Linked DNA regions of Homo sapiens: all the other regions are linked to region 1. Evidence: promoter capture Hi-C in 16 types of primary human blood cells and fetal thymus (Javierre and others, 2016). All regions are on one chromosome and are shown on one strand. Each heading gives the region's core, a stretch centred on a gene start or on the middle of the fragment in contact. The rest is flanking DNA. Distances are from core to core; before and after follow the strand shown. Region 1 holds the start of NEK2 (NIMA related kinase 2). Region 2 holds the start of ANGEL2 (angel homolog 2). Region 3 holds the start of BATF3 (basic leucine zipper ATF-like transcription factor 3).

Region 1 (2,597 bases), core at 41-2,540:
ATCCCCTCCTTCACAATATTCCATTACAATGTACAGTGTTGTATTGGTCCGGTCAATAATCCGATCATAGTAACGAACGATGTTTGGATGTTTCAGTTCACGAAGCAAATTCACTTCAGAAACAAGCATCTGTTTCTCAGCTTCTGTCATGGAGCCATAGTCAAGTTCTTTCCAAACTAATATCTGAAATAAGAATTTCCAAGGTATGAATGAACTCATTATGCTCAAAAACAAAGAATGAAAGTTCCAAGATTTAACAAATTACCTCCCTTTTAATTATATCCTACAATCAAGGTCATTATCTAATTTAGTTCAATGAACTTAAGGAGCTGTGAGTTTACTTCCATAATCTTCCTCCAGTTCTAAGCAGTAAATGTATGTTGTGGGGAGACAAACGGGAATGAGGCACATGAGGACTCCCCCAACCCCTACCCTCAGTTGGTTAGTGGGAAGTTGGCTAAAAGGTACTATAGTCAAAATTGGGGTGAAGGTGGTCAAAGTCCCTGCCCCATTCCACCCCAGTCGTGTTTTCCCAGGATGAGACACCTTGGTAAAGATCCCTCCATCAGCAGCCAGGCAGTTTCCTGTCCAATGTTACTTTCTGTAAAAGTTCTACCTATATACATTGGGAAATATGAATCCAATAATCCTAATAATGGATATTTTGAGGGAGTCTGACTGCAGATACAAAGCTTCGGGTTCTGGTAGTCCTGCCCCTTTCTTGTGCCTGAGAGGGCCACTCTTAGAGCTCTAAAAACAGCTCAGGAATTAGTTACCTGTCACCAATGGAAGGTCCTTAGCAAGCCAAAGCAGGAGAAAGAGAGAAATGGGGAGAGAAACGGGAAAAGATGGAAATACATATATCAAAAGAAGCGGTCTCCCATCCTTTAAGCCACCCAGGACAGGCTGTCAGATGCAGACCCAGGAAAGACGGTTTAGTCTTCCGGGCACCCATTTCCTCAGCCCTGTCGGTTCCCTTCGGTGGCGCAGGGCGCTCGCCCCGAGGCGACGAAACCTAAGCAGGGGCAGGCGCAGGGTAGGTCCCACGCTCACCTTGCCATCACTCTTCCTCCGGATCTTCTGGCAGCGGCCGTAGGAGCCTGTGCCAATGGTGTACAACACTTCATAGTCCTCAGCCCGGGAAGGCATGGCCGGCCAGTCGCCAGAGTCGCGCTGCCTCACGCAGGTTGCGCCGCCAAGTGCGGAGCTCCAGGGACCAGGAACTCCAGGGACCTGGATGGAGAAGCCCCCGAGCAGCACTGACCCGCCACCCCTGCCTTGGGCCCCGTTTAACCGTCGCGGGCCCTGATCTCGCAGTCTATTGGCAGGCGGTGGGCCGCTTCGCCTCTCTCATTGGCTAAGAAGAACACAACAATACCCTAGGCATTTTGGGAAAAGTGTCACTAGGCAACCGCGTCGGCGTCTGCTTTTAACCTGTGGGAGAACCCGGCGAGCTAAGCCAAACGGAGGGCGGGAGAGAGGAAGCGGCAGCTGGCGCCTCTCGGCAACTCTAACCCTCTGATAGAGATCGCCAAGGTAACCGAGATCTAAGGTCCTCCCCTCAGGCTTCTTTGCACACCGCTTCCACCAGATGCCTTCTGACCTTTGCACTCTGGCCCCTCACACTACCTACTCTCCCCGGCACACGCATTCCTCGCTCAGGTTCCAGTACCCTGAACCTGGGTGGGGTCACGTTGAGGATATGCTGAGAGCTGAATACAAATTAGAAATACAGACTCCCGGGTGGGCGCGGTGACTCACGCTCGCCCGTAACCCTAGCACTTTGGGAAGCCGAGGTGGGTGGGTCGCTTGAGCCCAGGAGTTCAGACCAGCCTGGGCAACAGGGCAAACCTCGTCTCTACTGAAAATACGAAAATTAGGCCGGGCGCTGTGGCTCACGCCTATAATCCTAGCACTTTGGGAGGCCGAGGCGGGCGGATTGCTCGAGGCCAAGAGTTCAAGACCAGCCTGGCCAACATGGCGAAACCCCGTCTCTACTAAAAATGAAAAAAAAAAAAAAAAAAGTAACAGAGCATGGGGTTGCAGGCCTGTAATCCCAGCTTCTTGGGAGGCTGAGGCATGAGGAATTGCTTGAACCTGGGAGGCAGAGGTTACAGTGAGCCGTGCGCCACTGCACTCCAGCCTGGGCGACAGAGTGACACCCAGTCTCCAAAAAAAAAAAAAAAAGGAGAAATACTGTCGCTCTCCTACCAAGTACTTTACACGTCTTGTCCCGTTTATGTGTGCCAAATACACAATTAACCCTATCGACAATACTTCATTGAACACAGATTCTCTTTTACGCACCCACACACCAACGTTCTCAGCTTACCCAGCCAAATGAACAGCCCCATGTTTACCAGGGAAGGAGGACTTAGAGGCCTCCATCCAGGGCTTGTTAGAGGAATATGTAAATTACCAGAAAGCTAATAATTTGGAAATGCATGAACAGGCCAGTTTTCTTTAAATATCTGTTCAGCAAAGGATTAAAAGACACCTGATTTTCTATTAATAAGAATTTAAAAGCTCTTTATGTAAAAATAAGGGACTTATTACATGCCCTGAATATAACATAAGATAATTGGAATTGCCAACCA
Region 2 (2,597 bases), core at 34-2,533, 1.3 Mb after region 1:
AATACTTGTACTACAAAAGCTATTATCTATATTTGCAGTTATTTATTCAGACTTTTTTTTCTCTTAAGATGTTAAGCTCCTTCAGGGCCAGAACAGAACCGTCTTATTCATTTTAATTCCGTTATCTTCACAAGTGCCTAGCACAGTGCCTGGCAAACAGCTGGTACTCAGGAAACATTGTTGAACTGAATTACCATCAAGTCCCAGGCCTATGGGAGTTACAACCAAATCCCCATCGCTTATGTAATAATACATGCTGTGTTTCCCAAGCGTGGTGGGTGGTACACGAGTCGGTTTCACAGAGTACACAGTTAAATTACTTGATTGTAATTTCTAAATACTTATGTTAGTTTATTAGGAAAAAACATAATCGCACATCAAATCCAAGACTCTGCAGACACTGCTTAGGGTGAAGCTAATGTGGGCAGCACCTACTGAAGTGCTTTTTAAAAAAAACTGAGTCAATTTAAAGAAAAATATCCAGTAAATAATACACGTGAAACAAGAACTTGGCCATAACAGTAAGGGATGACATACAAGTGACTAAAGTTTGAAAGACACTAACACATCAACAAAAATCAAGCCCCTCCTGGGCGTGTGCCACACACGCGCCTCCAAGGGATCAGGCCCGCCGAGACCTACTGCGGAGAGGCGGCCTCCCCGCCGACGCTCGGTTCCCGGGACGGTGCTGCGGAGTGTGTGGAGCAGGCCAGCGCTGGTCTGGAGGCTGGGTTGGGGGAAGCAGGCCAGGGATCCAAAGCCACTGGCACAAGCCTGGCCGGCGGCCCATGAACTCCGCGCCAAGACCCCAGACCTCGTTGGCCCAGCGTCCCGCCAGCTGCGCGGCGGGTTTACCTATCCCGCTTGGTCTCTGGAGGCTCGTCCCGGATGCACCATCGCCCAGACCCTCTTCCTCTTCCTTCCACCCCTAGCCCGCCCCGCCCCGCCCCGGGTTAGTCCCGGACGCCCGCCCGCTCTTTCAGGCCGCCCGCCCCTCTCTCCTCCCTCCGAGTACCCAGCCCTACTGACCGGCCTCTTCCCACCACACAGTGGCCGTAGCCCTTCCTCACACAGCGCCAGGCTTCCATCTTCGCCCTCCGCGTGCGTCCAGTTCCCAGGCCCCGGGTTCCACCTCAATCTCTATAATCGATGCGACGGCCTAAAGTATCTAGGGAACCCCATCACTCTTAAGTACCGACTCCAGTCCTGGCTGCAAGGCATGCTGGGAGGTGCAGTCTCGCCGGCCGGCCTACACTCCATCTTGCGCAGTCAGAGTCCCTGAATGCCTTAACCCGGAATTCTGCTCAAGGAGCATGCGCAGAGCGTGGGACGCGCGTGCAACCATTTCTGAAGAGGGCAAAACACCCGAACTTCGTCTTAAAGAAACAGAAATAAACTTTCTTTTTTTTCTTTTTCTTTCTTTCTTTCTTTTTTTTTTTTTGAGATGGAGTTTCGCTCTTGTCGCCCAGGCTGTAGTGCAATGGCACGATCTCGGCTCACTGCAACCTCCACCTCCCGGGTTCAAGCGATTCTCCTGCCTCAGCCTGCCAAGTAGCTGGGATTACAGGCATGAGCCACCACACCCGGCTAATTTTTGAATTTTTAGTAGAGACAGGGTTGCACCATGTTGGCCAGGCTGGTTTCGAACTCCTGACCTCAAGTGATTCGCCCGCCTCGGCCTCCCAAAGTGCTGGGATTACAGGAGTGAGCTACCGCGCCCGGCAGAAATAAACAGAGCAGTGAAAATTTTTAATTGCCCAAAGTGCAGATTCCCAGCTGAGGCTGAACAACGCATCCTCTGGGTGCCCATGGAACTGAGGTACCACAGAATTTTGCAATTAATGTTGCGGAAGCACAGCCATAGCTCTCACTTTAAAATGTACGTGTATGGGCCGGGCGCGGTGGCTCACGCCTGTAATCCCAGCACTCTGGGAGGCCAAGGCGGGCGGATCACGAGGTCAGGAGATCGAGACCATCCTGGCTAACACGGTGAAACCCCGTCTCTACTAAACATACAAAGAATTAGCCGGGCGTGGTGGCGGGCGCCTGTGGTCCCAGCTACTCGGGAGCCTGAGGCAGGAGAATGGCGTGAACCTGGGAGGCAGAGCTTGCAGTGAGCAGAGATCGAGCCACTGCACTCCAGCCTGGGCGACAGAGCGAGACTCCGTCTCAAAAAAAAAAAAAAAAAAAAAAAAAGTACTTGTATGTCTTGTGTGTCCACCTTTATTAAATGTATTATAGGACTGTAGATTGTTGAAAGACATTATTTAAGTGGAGACCCTGCAAGAAACAGGAAGAGAGAAACCGAGAAAGAATAAAGTGTGGAGAGTAGAGGGGAAAAGGATACTAGAAGGCAGGAGCACTGCTTTTATAGGCTCTTTGAAACAGTGGTAATTTCTTGGGAAGGCTTTTCTTATCCCTGGTGCATAAAAGGAAGTAAAGTGTATTTGAAAAAAACCTTTCCCTCAGTATGTAATTGATTCTTGTTATTTGCAGTAGTTAGGTTCTGTAAAGTTGCTGGAAACACTGAATTAGTAAATACTGAATCATTACTCCTAAGGGAAATACAGGATTAGGATCCTGTAAGCCTCTGGTCG
Region 3 (2,597 bases), core at 57-2,556, 1.0 Mb after region 1:
GCTCCCAGCATACAGTATGCCCTCAAGAAGTTACCTGCCTTTGTTGAAGTTGCTACTTTAAAAAAAAATGTATTCTGCATAGTGCTTCTCATGCCTCTTTGCTCTCTGTAATCAAAAAGTCACTAGCACAAGAAAGCAGCCTGCATACTGCCCTCGGGGAGCTGACTCTAAACTGGACTCATCACCATGATCACACCTGCCAACCCAGCAGAAACATTTAATCAAGACAGAAAGAGGTGAGCGAAAGTTAGAGATAGTATTATGTTATTAACCATATCTGATTCAGTCTCAAAAATCCTGAGAGGTTGATGTTACTATATTCATTTTACAGATGGGGAAATGGACGGTCCGAGAGGTTAAACAAATTGCTCAAGGCTGCTCAGCCTGTGTGTGGCAAAGCCCAGGCCCAAACTCAGATCTCTGTGACACTCCAGCGACACCTGATGACATGGGCCGGGCGCTGAATTGGGAAGGTGGGGAGTAAGGATGAAAAGACCCAGTCTTCGTCGTAAGGCAGGTGGCCAAGACCCAGGCAAAGTTTCCAGACGGCCGTCCCTGTGGCCAACCTGGTCTCCTTCCTGACTGCGCCGCTGTAAACGTTGCTAGGGGACAGCGAACTGGGAAGGGGCAAAGGGTTTCCACCAGCTGGGGGCGGAGTCGGCCCTTTGTGGGTTCCCTCCGCCCAGGCTGACTAGTCCGGCGTTCTCCATTCCCGCGGCAGCACCCCCCCCACCCGGGGGAATCCTGGAGGGGCTACAGGCGCGGGTGGTGGGGTGGCAGTCGCTGGCTGCGCCAGGATGGGGCGGCCCTCAGGGCAGTGCGGAGCCCACGTGCCGGGGAGCACCGGCCATGCCCGGCCCAGCCAGGCGTCGGCGCCCTCGGGCTTCTTCCCCCAGAGGGCGCAGGAGCTGGCTCAGGAGCCATTCCAGGAGCCGCGGACACTGTGCGCACGACAGGGTCCCTGGATCGCCCCCATTCCCCAACATCCCTACGCCCCTACCTCTGCTTGTCTCCGGCCGCACCCGCCACCTCTGCACCTCCGCAGTCACCACCACGGAACTCCAGCACCCACCTCCTCGCCCCCCGCGGCGCGCCGGTCCCCGCACCCCACGGCCCTCCCTGAGCCTCTCGCCCTCTACCTGCTGCTGCGGCTGCGGCTGCGGCTGGTTCCCGGGCGCCGCGACGCTCCTCTGCAGGACGCTGCCGGCGGCCGGGAGCCCTTGCGACATGCCGGGCGCTCCTCTGGCCCGGCCCGCCCCGCCCCGCCCGCGCGCCCTGCCCGTGGGGCTGCCTACGGGCGCTGTCCCGCCGCCGGCATCCTCGTGCCGCACCCACGGCCTCGCGCCGGCCCCGCCCCCTCAGGCTTCCCGCTCTCCCCGCTACTCCACGCGTCGGCCCAGTGTCCCCGCGCGCCAGTCCCGGCAGCCGTCCTTCCCGTCCCACGTCTGCCCCGCCCTCCTTCTCCCACCCCCGCCTCGTTTCCTCCTCTGCCCGCCCTCTCTCCGCACCTCGGGGTCCCAAATCCCACCCCTGCCGCGGCTTTCCGCCGGCGCCCCGCGCTTCGTGGAAGTCACGTGGTGGCTCTGAAACCCCGGAGGGAACGCGAAGCCCACCCACGCGAGGCGACGCCCGGGGGGGTGGGGACCAGGGGGGCGCCATGCAGCCTTTGGGGTCCTTCGGCGGCTGCCGGGGAACTCAGGTTGAGAAACACAGTGGGTGTTTTGGGGTCGGTGTTTTTTCCCGGTCCCATCGCGGCATCTTCCTGCGCCTCAGCCACGCCCTGCGTCCGCCCCCCGGCGCGGGGGTCACAGTCCCGGGGGACTTTCTCCGCGGCGATCAGTCATCCGGGCGCCACTCTCGCTCCTCCAGCGGCCCCGAAGCCGCGGCTCTGGGGTGAAGACGCCGGCTTCACCGAGTCCCACCGCGCACCCCGAGCCACGGGCGCCCCAGGGACTCTGCAGGGAGTGCCTGCCCTTCCCGTCTCGGGTCCGCCGGGCTGTGGGAGGGAACGAGGCGGGGCGGCCCCGAGGGTGAATTCCCGGAGCGGAGGGTGGGCATGGGGAGGATGTCCCGGACAAAAACGGTGACGGGCTTCCCTGAGAGCGAATCTGCCACGTGGGACGTCACTAGTGACAGGTTTGGGGATCTGGACCCGCCATGCCACGGTTAAACGGCCCAGATCATTTTTCTTTTTCAAGATTTATCTGCTCGTGCCAAGCTGGGGACCGGGTTGAGGTAGGGCAAGTCCCTGTCCACCTGCCTGCCAGTCAAAAGATGCGAAGCCAAGACAATTACCCGTGGTCCTAGCGAAGGAAACACTAGCGGCCACAGGCTGTGGTCTGCATGCTGTGAGCACCGGGAAAGATAACCGCGATTCGGGATGGGCGGGTGGGAACCAGACCAGAAGGGCAGAAGTGCCTACCAAGTGTGGTCGCTTGGGTCTTCAGGTTTGTGGGCAGCAGTGGGCATGGGGACAGTCATTTCCGATTCCTTTTTAAGTCTTAAATGAGTGCACGTGCCCCCCGCCAGGATTTAAGACCCACTCTTGCAAAAGCTTTGAGAGAGCTTGAGTGAACTTGGCTGCCTGGAGGCCAGCG

What was found. The method cuts DNA at HindIII sites, captures the fragments that hold promoters and counts their contacts. A CHiCAGO score of 5 or more calls a contact.
Region 2: the fragment with the promoter of ANGEL2 here is called in contact with the fragment with the promoter of NEK2 in region 1 in 3 of 17 cell types (fetal thymus, naive CD4 T cells and naive CD8 T cells); the score reaches 12.7 in fetal thymus.
Region 3: a contact is called between the fragment with the promoter of BATF3 here and the fragment with the promoter of NEK2 in region 1, in 1 of 17 cell types (endothelial precursors). The highest score is 5.7, in endothelial precursors.

The regions. Positions count from the first base shown.
Region 1 is chr1:211,674,331-211,676,927 of GRCh38, forward strand. NEK2 (NIMA related kinase 2) reads right to left here and starts at 1,291. Exons shown (of 8, transcript NM_002497.4): 1 at 1,054-1,291; 2 at 1-183. The coding sequence starts at 1,149. It overlaps NEK2-DT (NEK2 divergent transcript), which reads left to right and starts at 1,432. Exons shown (of 4, transcript NR_148994.1): 1 at 1,432-1,536. RefSeq lists enhancers at 995-1,254, 1,277-1,571. The HindIII fragment of the contact is 3,147 bases long and covers 691-2,597 here.
Region 2 is chr1:213,014,584-213,017,180 of GRCh38, forward strand. ANGEL2 (angel homolog 2) reads right to left here and starts at 1,284. Exons shown (of 9, transcript NM_144567.5): 1 at 1,030-1,284. The coding sequence starts at 1,088. RefSeq lists enhancers at 121-709, 710-1,297, 1,010-1,319. The HindIII fragment of the contact is 5,816 bases long and covers 1-2,597 here.
Region 3 is chr1:212,698,534-212,701,130 of GRCh38, forward strand. It overlaps BATF3 (basic leucine zipper ATF-like transcription factor 3), which reads right to left and starts at 1,307. Exons shown (of 3, transcript NM_018664.3): 1 at 1,140-1,307. The coding sequence starts at 1,229. RefSeq lists silencers at 605-1,054, 1,245-1,324. The HindIII fragment of the contact is 2,939 bases long and covers 1-2,552 here.